3 separate regions of the Homo sapiens genome follow, and all the other regions are linked to region 1. Evidence: promoter capture Hi-C in 16 types of primary human blood cells and fetal thymus (Javierre and others, 2016). All regions are on one chromosome and are shown on one strand. Each heading gives the region's core, a stretch centred on a gene start or on the middle of the fragment in contact. The rest is flanking DNA. Distances are from core to core; before and after follow the strand shown. Region 1 holds the start of ZMYND11 (zinc finger MYND-type containing 11). Region 2 holds the start of WDR37 (WD repeat domain 37). Region 3 overlaps LARP4B (La ribonucleoprotein 4B).

What was found. The method cuts DNA at HindIII sites, captures the fragments that hold promoters and counts their contacts. A CHiCAGO score of 5 or more calls a contact.
Region 2: a fragment that was not itself captured here is called in contact with the fragment with the promoter of ZMYND11 in region 1 in 1 of 17 cell types (total B cells); the score reaches 6.4 in total B cells.
Region 3: a fragment that was not itself captured here is called in contact with the fragment with the promoter of ZMYND11 in region 1 in 2 of 17 cell types (fetal thymus and total B cells); the score reaches 9.1 in fetal thymus.

Annotation. Positions count from the first base shown.
Region 1 is chr10:132,780-137,397 of GRCh38, reverse strand. ZMYND11 (zinc finger MYND-type containing 11) reads right to left here and starts at 1,943. Exons shown (of 15, transcript NM_001370100.5): 1 at 1,839-1,943. RefSeq lists silencers at 2,516-2,694, 1,142-2,701. The HindIII fragment of the contact is 13,901 bases long and covers 1-3,828 here.
Region 2 is chr10:1,053,342-1,057,959 of GRCh38, reverse strand. It overlaps WDR37 (WD repeat domain 37), which reads right to left and starts at 1,575. Exons shown (of 14, transcript NM_014023.4): 1 at 992-1,575. It also overlaps a transcript of IDI1 not described here. RefSeq lists enhancers at 858-917, 1,018-1,077, 1,878-1,927 and silencers at 1,178-1,607, 2,038-2,097. The HindIII fragment of the contact is 856 bases long and covers 1,598-2,453 here.
Region 3 is chr10:926,128-930,745 of GRCh38, reverse strand. All of the region lies in intron 1 of LARP4B (La ribonucleoprotein 4B), which reads left to right. Among named protein-coding and RNA genes, the nearest start is that of LARP4B, 3.3 kb to the left of the region's middle. The HindIII fragment of the contact is 2,258 bases long and covers 860-3,117 here.

The sequences.
Region 1 (4,618 bases), core at 694-3,193:
GTGGGATGCAGAACACCTAAGTGAGGAGGACCAAGGGCTCTAGACCTCCCTAAAAACCCAACCTGCACCACTCCCTCCTACCAGCAGGGTCCTGAATGGGCCACCTGGGTATCTCCTCCAGGCTCACATTCTTGACACCAGATACCATGTACACACTGTATATGACCCAGGGTACTAGATACCCTGAATATGACAGTGGGTACTGTGTACACAGTACATATGACACTCGGTACTAGGTACACACTGCATCTGACACTGAGTACAGCTTATGTGACAAGGATAGTGCATGCATGGTGCATATGACATTGGGTACCATATATGCATGGCATATGACATTGGGTACTACCTACACACCATATATAACACTATGTAATGTATACATACTGTACATGCCACCAGATATATATACAAAACATAGATAACACCAGGTAGTGTATATACACTGTATATGACACCAGATACTATATACCTAACGTATATGACATTGAATACTGCATACACACCGCATATGGCAGCACGGTACCGTGCACATACTGCACAAAATACCGGGAACCGCGTAAGGGCTGTATATGACACTGGGTGCTGCATACACAGTGTGAAAGGATACTATGTACACACCATATATGACCCCAAGTACTGTGTGCACACAGTATATGACACCTGGTACTATACACACCGCATATATGACACCAGGTACTACATACACACTGTATGTGACAACAGGTAAGGTAAATATATTCAATACTATCCAGATACTACATACACTCGTATATAACATGGAGTACCACACGCACAGCTCATATGGCAGCAGGGTACCAGGCACCTACTGCACACAATACCGGGGGCTGAGTGCACAGCCTAAGCGAGGAAGATACATGTACACACCGTGTATGATAGCCGGTACGACACCGGGTACTTCGAGCACACTGCATATGACACAGAGTACACACCATATATAATCCCCGGTACTGCGTACCCACCGCATAGGACACCGCACTGCACAACGAGCACTGGTACACACGAATAAAACAGGTACGGCGGTCACTCTGCAAAAGACACCGGGCACGGCGCACACATCGCCAGCTCCTCCTCCTCCCGGCTCGGGAGAAAAGCGCGAGGAGAGACTGCAAGTGAAAGTCCGGGTCCCGGCGCCCCCCCTCGTCCCAGCCGCGTCCTCAGCAGCTTCTCCCCGGAGCTCTGGGTGGGAGGAGGGCGGCGGACCCCACAGGACTGTCCCGGAGGTCCGCGAGGACCTGTTGAGGCGGCGGCCTCGCTGCCGGGGTCGCTCACAGCCCCGGGGGACCGACGAATCTCCGCCCCGGGCCTCGGGGCCAGCCCTGCCCGCCGCTCCCGGGCTAGCACACGACGTGCCGCGCCGACAAACGCTTCCTCTCCGCCCGCCACACGCCCGGAGCCGCGTTCCCCGCCGGCCCGGACTGCGCACGGGCCCAGGAGGCCTGACCGAAAGCGGGGCACAGGGCCCGGCGGGCGGTGCTCACGCGACTCCGCGGCTTCCCGGCCCGAGCAGGCCCCGCGCGGTCCTCCGGGGCCTCATCCCGGGGCCTCTTCCGCGGCCGCCCAAGGCGAGTGGGCGCGGGCCGGCAGCCTCCGCAGGCCCCGCCGCCGCCCTCGCAGGCCCCGCCGGCCCGGCCCGCCCCGCCATCCACAAAGCTCCCCGGCAGCTCGGAGCTCTTCGCGAGCGGGCGAGCGACCGTCAGCACCCACTGGTGCCGCCGCCGCCCCAGAGGCCGCGGCCAGGCAGGCTCCACCGCGCGGGCCGCGCCATCTCCACGGACGCCCCCGCCCGCCCCGCCGCCCCGCCGCCGAGCTTTCCCCACCATTATGCTCCGGCTCCTCCACCGCCGCCGCCGCCGCGCCCGGCCCTCCCCTCCGGTGCCGCCTCCTTCCCGCCGCCCGGCGCCTCTCGGGCCTGAGCCGGCGACGGGCGCGGGGGGCGGGGGGGACGCTCAGGCCGCCTCCTCCTCCTCCCTGCCGGCCTCCTCCCTCCTCCCCGGCTCCCCCCCGCCCGGACCCCGCCGCCGGCTCCGCGCGAAGGGCTCCGGGCTCGAGGGGCGCCATGTTTGTAATACTCCACCTCAGAGAACGCCGCGGTCGCGCCTGAGCGAGGGAGGCTAGGCGGCCGGGTCGCCGCGTGCGGGGTGAGGGCCGGGAGGGCACCGCCGCCCGCACTTACTCGCGTCTTCCCCTGGCGCCGCGGGCCTGCGGGGCCGGAGCGGGCGGCGGGAAGTTGGGCGCCGCCGCCCGGGAAAGTTGGGTCCCCGCGAAGCCGCGGCAGCCGCTCACATGGCGATGCGCGCGGGGCGGCCGCTCGGCCCCACCGGCCCCTCGGCCCGCCCGCCCTCGGAGTTTATTGTGTCGGGTCGAGGCGCCCCGCGGCCGGGCCGCGCACTGGGGGCTCTAGCGGCTGGCGCCGGACTTGCGCGCGGCCGGCCCGGCTCGCGGCCGCCTCCCGCCCGGGGCCGGAGCCGTGCACGCGGCTCCTACCTTCCCCACGTCCTGTCTTCGGCGCCTCTATCCGAAATTTGTTGGAGCATATTCCTCTGTCTCCACACATGCACTCCGTATCCACACACACGTGAAGGCTACGTACGTGCAGGCGCGCTGGAGCCGGGAGCGGGCGCCGAGGCCGGGGCGCGAGGGGGCATTGTCAGGCGCCGCCGCAGCTCAGCCCCGGGTGGACCCGGTGCCTGCCCCTGGCTCGCGGGGTCCGGAACAGCGAAGTCTGAGAAGTACGAGTGCTTCTCTTAACAACATTGTTTAGGTAGTCTGAACAGCCCTTTACTCCTGTCATCAAAAAGAGCGGTAGGGATACGCTAAGTTCCCCGTTTCATCTCTGCGCAAACAGGACCGCGAAAAGAACAGGACCACCCATCAGCAGCCCTGCAAGAACACTGCAGATTTGCGCGAGAAGTAGGTTATCTTCTATGGAGAGGAATTCTAGACCTAATCAGAGACGATCCCTTAAGACTCTGGTTTAAGAAAGGTTCGGAGATAAGCATACTTTGATAGCGTTCACCTGTTTTCCCTGAGGACCTTTCGCCACTGGGAGTCGGGGAACACCTGTCAGTCAGAGTCCTCTGCTCTGAAATTCGGTGAGTACAGGACAGCAAGGTGTTTTCAGGGAGACCGCATTCTCATAACTTTTACTACAGTATAGTGTTATAATTGTTCTGGTTTATTATTAGTGTTGTTAATCTCTCATTGTGCCTGACTTCTAAATTAAACTTTATTATAGGCAGGTGTGTATAGGAGAAAACGTAGTGTAAGTAAGGTTCAGCACTACCCCGGGTTTCAGGTATCTATTGGCCGTCTTGGCACGTGTCCCCACCTGAAAAGTCATTAGGAAGAGACGGTTGTAGGAATTTGGGGATTCTGATAAAATATATCAATCTGCTTCTACAGCTGGTTTCTAAGACTGTTAGAATTTAGAAATGGGTGGTACTTGAATAGGTCTGTGATATACACTAGTCAAATAAACACAATCTTTCATGCTATTCACAGCCCTCAATCTGATACATCCCAGAGAGTTTTTGATTATCTCAAAGAACATCACAGAATAATTGTAATTCATTTTAAGAGTAAATATATATCGCTAAAAATTTAGTAGAGGGGTTAAAACGTGTCAGAAGAAAAGCAAGCCATGCCTGGTTTGAATGTTGGGCCAGGAATTCCAACAATGAAGAGCTTTCAGTGAGTCACCTTTTTAAACAGTCTGTTACTTCATCTGTAAAATAGAGGACTGCATGGTTCTGTGTATTTTAGAGAAGGCACTCGAGTAAGACAACATCGTATCAATAAAAGGAAGCTTACCTTTTAGGAAAGAAGTGGCAGCATAACTCCACATTTTTTTCCCAGTTATACTTTGTAGGGATCATTTAAAATTTTATACGCAGATACCATCTCTCATTCAACCTAATGTAAGTTAGATAACTTACCCTGATTTTCCTGTTGGTTTTGCCTAGAATTTAACCCTTGGCTCTATTTTCCAAGTAAGGTGGTATTTATCCACTAAGATGAATACGAATATCCCTCCCCACATAAAACGCAAAAGCCATGGATAATGTACAATAGAAGAAATAAAACTATTAATAAATACTGACAGCTATTCTAATTCACTAGTAATGACACATTCAAACAACGTAACATTGCTTTTCTTCAAAGGACAGAATTCTTTTCCAGTGATAATGCTACTGATGGTTAGCGAAATGAACGCTTATATACACTGCTGGCAGAAAATTGGGTTGATGTCAACTCTCTTGAAATGCATACCAAGAGGCCATTAAAACAGTTTGATTTATCTCATTTGCCCCTCAGCTGAATGAATGTGTGTGTGTGGGTCTGGGGACCAAAGGTTTGAGGTTTGGAGGAAGCCCAGAAGACCAGTAACTAATTGCTGTGCTAGTATCTTACATGACAAAGCTATACTGTTTATACAATTGAATACAGACAGATTTTTACTTCTTGATTCTCCTTTTTGCATTGGTGAGTTTCAAAGCGGGTGCCACTGAGCCCTGGGGCTTCTCAGAGCTGTCGGGGAGCTGTCTCTGCAGGACCAAGACGTGGGAATACTCCTCCCGCCCCCAATCAGACAGCACTG
Region 2 (4,618 bases), core at 776-3,275, 920 kb before region 1:
GAAAGTTCCTGGAGATATAACTATCTTGAGCTTTCTCATTCAGAGGTAAATAATTCCTGCAATACTTTTATGACCGTAACTCACAGGCCAACATACTGAATTTAAGAGAAAAACACTTGAACTTCAATAAATGAAACTTCCAAGCAATTAACACTTTTCTATAATGGTATCCGCTTCAAGGGACGAATGTTTTAGCGTTTAAGTTAAATGACAAAATCTCTAAAAACCTGGCAGACCTTAAGCTATTTTCACTCACAACCTGGAAAAATGTATTTATTCAACTTGGTTTAGTAAATGAGTACATTATTATTGTTGCTCTTGTGTTATTCCGGTGAACAGCTGTCTTAAAATGTTTCCCTCCAGCGGTGGCTGCTTTCAGGGGGAAGGGAAGGAAAAGGAAGTCTTCAAAAGGGGAACAATATCATGGCGCTGTGTTAATCACTTCAGCATCCGTCACTCCACACTCACCACCCTTCTTGAAGCCGACCATCCCCACTCTTTGGAGAGAAGAAAGGCCATTCTCCTCTCTGAAGGGCCTCCCAAGTGCTTCCCTGGAGACGCACTTCCCCGGGATGCCCAGGCCGAAGCAAAGGGGGCGGGGAGAGACCCCGGGCCGAACCCTTCTGCCCCCAACCCCTCCAGCGCCCCGACTCTTCCTGGACTCCGACATCTTCTGCACCGCCCCGGGCCCCCATCCCTCCCGCACCCTGGTCCCTCTGGCACCGCCACGGACTACTCCTGCGCCCCGACTTCTCTTGCACCCTGAACCCTTCTGCACCACGGCCCTTCCTGCACCGCCACGGGTCCTCCAGGGACCCGACCCCTCCTGCACCACCACGGACCCTCTGCATTCCAAGCCCACCTGCACCCCATCCGCCACTATGCCCCGACTGCCCCTGCACCCCCTTGAGCCCTGCAGTGTCCCGACTCCTCTTCGGGGCATCCGGGGAACGACTCGGCGCCTGACAGGTAGGAAGATGGCGGCACTCACCTGTCACAGCAGCTGCGCCCGCCACCCCCGGAGCCAGCCCAGGTCGCGCACCGCCAGTGAGTCCCTACGACGCGGCCCCCCGTACTGACCCGAAGACGCGCAGGACACCGCTGTCTCCGCACTGACGCGACCCCACAACCCCAACCTGGCGCTAATGCACTTCCGGTGTCGCCGGAAGTCCCGCCCCAGTCCCGCGCCGCTGGGTTCTCCGGAAGCCGCCCCACACCTCCGCCCCACACCCGGCGGCGCCGGAAGTCACGCCCCGGCTTCCGCCCCGCAGCCCCGAGGGGTCTGGGCGCGCTGAAGACCCCTTCGGCTGCTGGGCCAACGCCCCCACCCTTGGTCACGTACTCCTGCCGCCGAGCGGTTCGCGGGAGGTGGCCTCGGGGGTCGTAGCTACTCACCGGCGGGGCGCTCCGAGTCCATCTGCCCCGTAGCCCGGCAGCCGGGGCGGGAGGGCTGCGAGCCCGGGGCGCGGTCCGCCTGAGGCCTGAGACCCGGGGCCGCCTGCGCTCAGGGCCGCGGTGCCGGCCGCGCGGGAGCCTGGCGGGGACGGCGCGGTCAGTGTTCGGCTCCTCCGCAGTGACTCACCAGCGTCCTGAAGCTTTTGATCACCATTGGCTGGGAAGGAAAAACAGAATCAGCTGTTCCCTGCGAAAGGTGGGACTTGGGCCGCTTTTTTCTTAGAATCTAGGTTGGAAACGTCGCATGATGGTCTTTACGTAAACAGCCGTCTCAACGCTCTACAGAAAGCGCTAACCGCGCATTTGAAGCCCACCTAGAGTAAATCAAGAGCGTGAAAGCATTTTTTTTTTCTGTGTAGGTTAACATTCCTGCTCCTTCCTTTAAAAAGGAAGCTCAAGGCCAGGCGCGGTGGCTCACGCCTGTAATCCCAACACTTTGGGAGGCCGAGGCCGACGTATCACGAGATTAGGAGGTCGAGACCAGCCTGGCCAACATGGTGAAACCCTGTCTTTACTAAAAATACAAAAACTAGCCGGGCGTGGCGGCGCGCGCCTGTAACCCCTGCTACTCGGAAGGCTGAGGCAGGAGAATCGCTTGAACCCGGGAGGCGGAGGTTGCAGTGAGCCGAGATCGCGCCTCTGCACTCCAGCCTGGGACAGAGCGAGCCTCCGTCTCCAAAAAAAAATAAGGAAGCTCAAGATGAAGAGTCAGAAGTGGTAACTTGTTTGTTGCACAAGAAACAAATTTAGCATTCTATTTAGGGGATCCAGATTACCAAAAAAAAAAAAGAAGTGAAGTTATTTCTGCATTAAGTATATTAATAAAACTTTATCACTAAAAACAATTCTGTAAGAGGAACGCCAAGGAAAAAAATATTTGAGTTTTTAGAGAAGTCATTTTTTAAACTTTTAGAGGTTGTGACATTTAAGTAACATAATTTTATTTAGTACCTAGTATGCAAAGACATTGTACTGGGCATGGCAGCAAATAGAAAGCTTTGTAAATCGCAGTGTCCCATCTAATTAACCCGCATTCTAACAGGTGGTTTTATTTTTCTGGACCGCACCACAGTCAGGTAACACCAAGAATATCGCTAATGTAATTTTTTAAGTTGATATATTTAGGATTCCATAAAAGTCACTGAAAATAACTGAGAGCATGACATGTCACAAAACAAGGGAAAGAAATCATTTTGAGGATCAGTCGCTTTACATCTTTTGTAACTAATTTAATCCCCAAAGGAATCCAATAAAGTAAAAGTTATTCTAAATTGAATTTTAAGCATGAGAATGTGGAAATTACTCGTCAAAAGTCAAAAATAATCGTGCAGCAGGGCAAAGACTAAAGGCTGGCATCAGAATCCATATTCTTTTCACTGTTGATGTGCTAGGGCTGCAGGAACAAAATACTGCAAACTAGGCAGCTTAAACAAATTTATTGTCAGAGGTCTGACTGGAAGTCCCAAATCAAGGTATTGGCAGGGTTGATTCCTTCTGAGAGCTGTGATGGGAGCCTGTTAATGCATCTCAGCGTCTAGGCATTCCTTGGCTTGTGGCAGCATGCCCCCGCCAGTCTTCACATGACGTTTTCCATGTCCGTGTCTGTCTGCACACTTAGCGTTCTTTTTATGAGGACATCAGTCATATTGGAGTACAGTAGACGCTACTTTAATATGACCTCATGTTAACTAATCATATCCACAACAACCCTGTTTCCAAATAAGGTCACATTATAAAATACTGGAAGTGAGGTCTTTAACACATGAATTTGAAAGGGGGACACAATTTAACCCATAACACACTGTATCCTGAAATAACTATCCAATGTAATTTTTTTAAAAGACACAAAACTAGCCGAAATTATAAAAGGTTATGATTGCAATCCTGGTATCCAGTTACATTCTCCCTCCTGCAGAAGCTGTGGAGAATCCTGTCTCAGAAAACCAATTTCTATTTTGTCACATGTCCATCTATGCAAAATACATGTACTTTGTCCCTGACATAGGGCAACAATGCTGAATTTACTAAGACTCATTTTTGCGCATGGTTTGATAGGGAATTAAGATTTACTAGGTATTCTGTCATTGTCCTCATTACTGATTATTTTAACTGTGTCTCAAACACTTGGATAGTACACTATAGTGTTATAAGCTGTTTGACATGTCGCTTCCTAAATTCTCAAGTTATATATATGTGTGTATATATGTCATGTAACAGGCACAACTGTTTTCATGTGTATCACTTTATTGCACTTCACAGGTATCATATGTTTCTTACAAAGTGGAGGTTTGTGGCAGCCCTGCATGGAGCAAGTCTGTCAGCACCATCTTTCTAACAGTATGTGCTCACTTCATGTCTCTCTCACATTTTGGTAATTCTTGGAATGTTTCCGTTATTAAATCAGTTATAGTGATCTGTGATTAGTGATCTTTGATATTACTGTCATAATTGCTTGGGGGGCACCATGAACCACCCCTATATAAGACAGCAAACTGAGTCGATAAATGTTTTATGTGTTCTGACCACTGCACTGACCAGCTGCCTCCCTATCTCTCTCCTTCTGCTCAGACCTCCCTATCCTTGAGACACAGCAATACTGAAATTAGGGGCCAGGCATGGTGGTGGCTCATGCCTGTAGTCCCAGCTACTTGGGAGACTGAAGCAGGAGGATTGCTTGAGCCTAGGAGTTCGAGGCTGCAGTGAGCTGTGATCACGCCACTGCACTTCAGCATGGGCAGCAAAGCAAGACCCTGACTCAAAAAAAAAAAAAAATCAGGCAATTAATAGCCCTAAAATGGCTACTGTTTCATAAAAGAATGAGTTGCACATCTCTTACTTTAAATCAAAACTAGAAATGATTAATGATTAAGCATGGTGAGGAAGGCATGTTGAAACAGCTAAGTCGTGAATGCAAAGGAAAAGTTCTTGAAGGAAATTTGAAGTGCTCCTACAGTGAATACACAAATGGTAAGAAAATAAAACAGCTTTATTGCTGATATGGAGAAACTCTGAGTGGTCTGTATAGATTAAACCAGCCACAATATTCTGATAAAGCCTAATCCAGAGTAAGGCCCTAACTCTCTTCAGTTTTCTGAAGGCTGAGAGAGGTAAGGAAGCTACAGAAGAAAAATCTGAAGCTATCAGAGGTTGGTTCATGAGGTTG
Region 3 (4,618 bases), core at 739-3,238, 790 kb before region 1:
GACTTGAGCAGAGGTGGATCTGAAGGAGTTAAAAAAATAAAGTCAGATGTGAAGATTGCCTGTGTTGGTCTTGGGGCTGGGATACATGGGCGGCAGAGAAGCCATCGGAAAGCTGCTGCACCTGCCTCTCAGGGTGCGCTTGGGAACGTGAAGAGTCTTTCCGTTTCAGTGCCGTTGTGCGTCGAAACTTCATGCGAATGTAATTTTGCTTTTCCCCTTATTTTTACGTAAAACGTTCTTAAAACTTGGCTGAGATGAAACTTGAGAAACCTAGCTGTAGAAAACTACCTCCTATCTGGCTTTCGTTTGAGATTCTCTAAGTGGATGCCCAATAACTTGTCTTAATAGTAAATTGGAAGTTTGAAGTTTTGGATAACTGAGAAAACAGGAAGGTTTTCCTTGACAGGGCAGTGGAGTTTGTAAGTATAAACAGTATGCGTGAGGCCTTTTTCTAGAGATGAGAGCAACTCCAAGGTGAACATTGAAGGGGACAGACAAGTTATTTTCCCTTTCGAAAGTTTTTTTCTCTTAGTTTCAGTTGTTTGAATATTTAAATGCACTTGAAATAGGTGCTGAGTTGTAGTTTGTGAAGACCACAGTGGGGAAGAGTGGTGTCCTCTTTTTTCTTGGTGGTCAGGTGGTGTGTGCAGTGTGCAATTTCCATACTTCCCCAACCTGCCTGGCGCCCCTCATTACAGTCAGGGTAATTTACAGAAGTTGAAATCGTTGTGGCTTTTCAGTTTTTTCTCCTTGTATTTAATATGCTGAAAGGCAGTTTTGTAATCAAACCATATAAGAAATAGCTTAATTGAGGTTTGCTAAGTGAAATGCGTTCCGAAAGGCATCAGATTAACAAGCTTATTATTTAATCATAAATTTAATTTGTGTACTTATCTTTGAAACTTGCATTGGTTAGAAATAAATTTTATCCGGTATTTTGAAAAGTTAATGTGAGTTGAGTTGACTTATTTATATGAAACAAAGGCATGGCTTATTCATTAGAAGTTACCCTCGTGTTGCCTACATTTTCTCAATTGTAACAGGGGGATGATGATAATCTCATTTTCTTAGGACTGTTGTAACACAAACATGGAAATGTTGTCTGGTTTTGCTATTTTCACTATTACTGATTTTTTTCTTCCCCCCCCGAGTTGGAGTCTTGTTCTGTCACCCAGGATGGAGTGCAGTGACACGATCTCAACTCACTACAACCTCCACCTCCTAGGTCTTCAAGTTATTCTCCTGCCTCAGCCCCCCGAGTAGCTGGGATTTACAGGCACATGCCACCACACCTGGCTAATTTTTGTATTTTTAGTAGAGACGGGGTTTCAGCATGTTGCCCAGGCTGGTCTCGAACTCCTGGCCTCAAGTGATCCACCTGCCTTGGCCTCTCAAAGTGTTGGGATTACAGGAGTGAGCCACTGCGCCCAGCTTACTGAATTTTTAAAATATTCTACCTTGTAGCTGTCAATCTATTAGCAGAAAGTTTTGTTTTTGTTTTTGTTTTTTTGTTTTGTTTTTTTTGGCTTGTTTACACATGTATCTGGGCAGAGAAAACAGCTTCTGAGCACAGAATGCATATTTGGAGAAAGCAGTTCCACTCTTTTTGAGTAGGAACCAGACAGAAAAAAAGATAACATGGGTACTATTCTGTAGAAGAGTAGCTGAAATTAAGTGGCAGCAAATTCAGGGAGAAATGTAATTTGGTTTAATGTTCGGGAAGATTGCCATTTTTAAAAGTGAGATTTAAAGAATTTATTGAATTTAATGCAATTTCCATAAGTAAGCACAAGTTTTGACAAGTATATATTTAAGGTGTTTTTATGAAGCAGTCTTCACATTATCTTAAAATGTAGTTCTAAAATACGTGCAGGCTGGGTGAGGTGGCTCATTCCTGTAATCCCAGCACTTTGGGAGGCCTAGGTGAGTTTAGGAGCCCAGGAGTTCACCAGCCTGGGCAACATAGAGAGACCTCATCTCTACCAAAAAATCAAAAAATTAGCCAGGCATGGTGGCTCACACCTGTAGTCCAGCTGTTGGAGAAGCTGAAGTGGGAAGATCGCTTGAGCTTGGGAGGTTGAGGCTGCAGTGAGCCATGATCCTGCCACTGCACTCCATCCTGGACAACAGTGAGACCTTGTCTCCCCCCACCCCCAAAACATGCAAATTGGGACATCAAATTGTTAATGGTGTTTACAATGAACAGTGCCTTCAGGTAGCTGCAGCTACTCTACATAGATTTGCAAGTTTTTGTAGTGATAGGCTATGGTAGATGTTACCAGCCAAGGAGTGGCTGACAAACTCCTTTCACTGTTATTTCATTGTCATGTTAAAATTCATATTTTCCGTCAAAATAGTGATAGCTAGGATTATAATCTAGGTCTTCTAATCTTAGTAACGTGTTGTCTATGTTAGGGCCTCTCAAAGTTGTAAAAAAGCTGTATAGATGTGTTACCATCAATCGATTTCATTTGTTTTTATCCTAGTGTTAAAGGTACAAGTTTTTTTTTTTTTTTCTTTCCTGAGGCGGACTTTCACTCTTGTCGCCCAAGCTGGAGTGCAATGGTGCGTTCTTGGCTCACTGCATCCTCCGCCTCTCGGGTTCAGGTGATTCTCCTGCCTCAGCCTCCCGAGTAGCTGGGATTACAGGTGCCCTCCACCACACCTGGCTAATTTTTTTTTTTTTTGTATTTTTAGTAGAGTTGGGATTTCACCATGTTGGCCAGGCTGGTCTTGAACTCCTGACCGCAGGTGATTCGCCCGCCTCGGCCTCCCAAAGTGCTGGGATTGCAGGCGTGAGCCACGGCGTACCTGGCCAAAGGTACAAGTTTTAAATATGCTTTTATCATGCATACAGTACTCTTATAGATTCTGTCAGATTTAGGGATATTCTTTTCAGATTGATAAATTGCACAAAAATCTTGGAGTATATTCTTGTAATTTCTTCTACAAAATTCTCAAAACAACCTTTTTCCAATGGGGAGAAGACATGAACACTGAAGTCATGTTTTTGGAAAATACCTTGTTAAAAACAGACACTGCTGTAAGGGTTTCCTTGCTTATGCTCTTTTGTAGAACTTTATTGATGTGAAGAGTTCTCCTTTTTCTGTAAAAGCTTATTTTAGAGTACGAAGTAAATGAGGCACTCAGAGAGTTAACCTCATCAGGTCTGAGTTTAGTTCAGTTTAAACTTTTTGCTCTTATGCTGGTTGATATCTTTGTAACTACTCTACTTCTAGAGTTATTTTGATTGGAAAATGAATTCCTTTTTTAGAACATGGAATTGTAAGGTAGAAAACTGCTAGGTTCTCAAAAGAAGGGAGATAAATTCCAACTTGAAAGTTTTTTCCCCTAACGTTCTAATGCTTTGTTTTTCCTGTGTGTAAATGCCTTCCTTAGGAACAAGGAAAATTATTAACTCAGCTGTGTTTCCTTCCCTTCTCTTTCTCACTGCCCCCCCGCCACCCCATACCTTAATACCTTTTGTCCCTTCAATGCCTTTATAAACTCTGTCTTCTCATAGTTTTTCTGGTGAAGCTGTCATGGCTCCTATTTCAACCATAAAGGATTTGCAGTTCAGTGATGCTACTGGTTTTACATCTTCTTTCCCATCAACCCCATTGCCCTGGTTAGGAGACCTAGACCATGGAGTACATTGCAATATTGAAAGTATTTCATGTTTAACACAATTTTTTTTTTTTTTTTTGAGACCGAGTCTCGTTCTGTTGCCCAGGCTGGAGCGCACTGGCACGATCACGGCTCACTGCAACCTCTGCCTCCAGGGTTTAAGCGATTCCCCTGCCTCAGCCTCCTGAGTAGCTGGGACTACATACAGGTGCGTGCCACCACGCCCGGCTAATTTTTGTACTTTAGTACAAATTGGGTTTCACTGTGTTGGCCAGGCTGGTCTTGAACTTCTGACCTCAAGTGACCCATCTGCCTTGGCCTCCCAGAGTGCTGGGATTACAGGCGTGAGCCACTGCGCCCGGCCATGTTTAACACAAATTTGAAAGCGTACTGCTTAGTTTTTTAGGGGGAGTATGATAATCATAGAGATGAGACTTGATCTTTGCTGAAAGTGTTCTTTATGAAGTCTGATGTGCATAAATTTGCCCAATAAAATGCTCTTTTATTTACACAAATCATTTTAGTCGCACTGTAGCCAGAGTGTGGCATAGCCTGATGGCTGGCCTCTTTTCAGAAACTCATCAGGACTGCCCTAGGCCTCGCCCTGTGTGTGCTTCCACTTCTGTGTCTTCCTTCTTGCCCTGCCCCACCTTTTAATCAGGACCACGCCTCCCTCTCCTACCTTGGTGTTGCAAACGTTGTAGCCATTGCTGTTGGTAGATTCTTTGACTGAAATTGAATGTCCACCTCCTTTAAAAAAATTTTTAAAATATTTACTTAGCTCCTTAAACCATCCTTAAAAAGATATTTTAGGAGTCCTCCAGACTGCTTTGCATTAACTTCTGAGATTATGCTTCTCTGTTTCTGTAGCAACTAAGTGTACCTTTGTGTTACTTAGCACATAATTAATGTAAGCTCCTTGTGAGTGAGATTCTCTTTTTATGCTTGTCACCTCTGCCCAGCCCAGGGACTGGTAAACTGTAGATGTTTA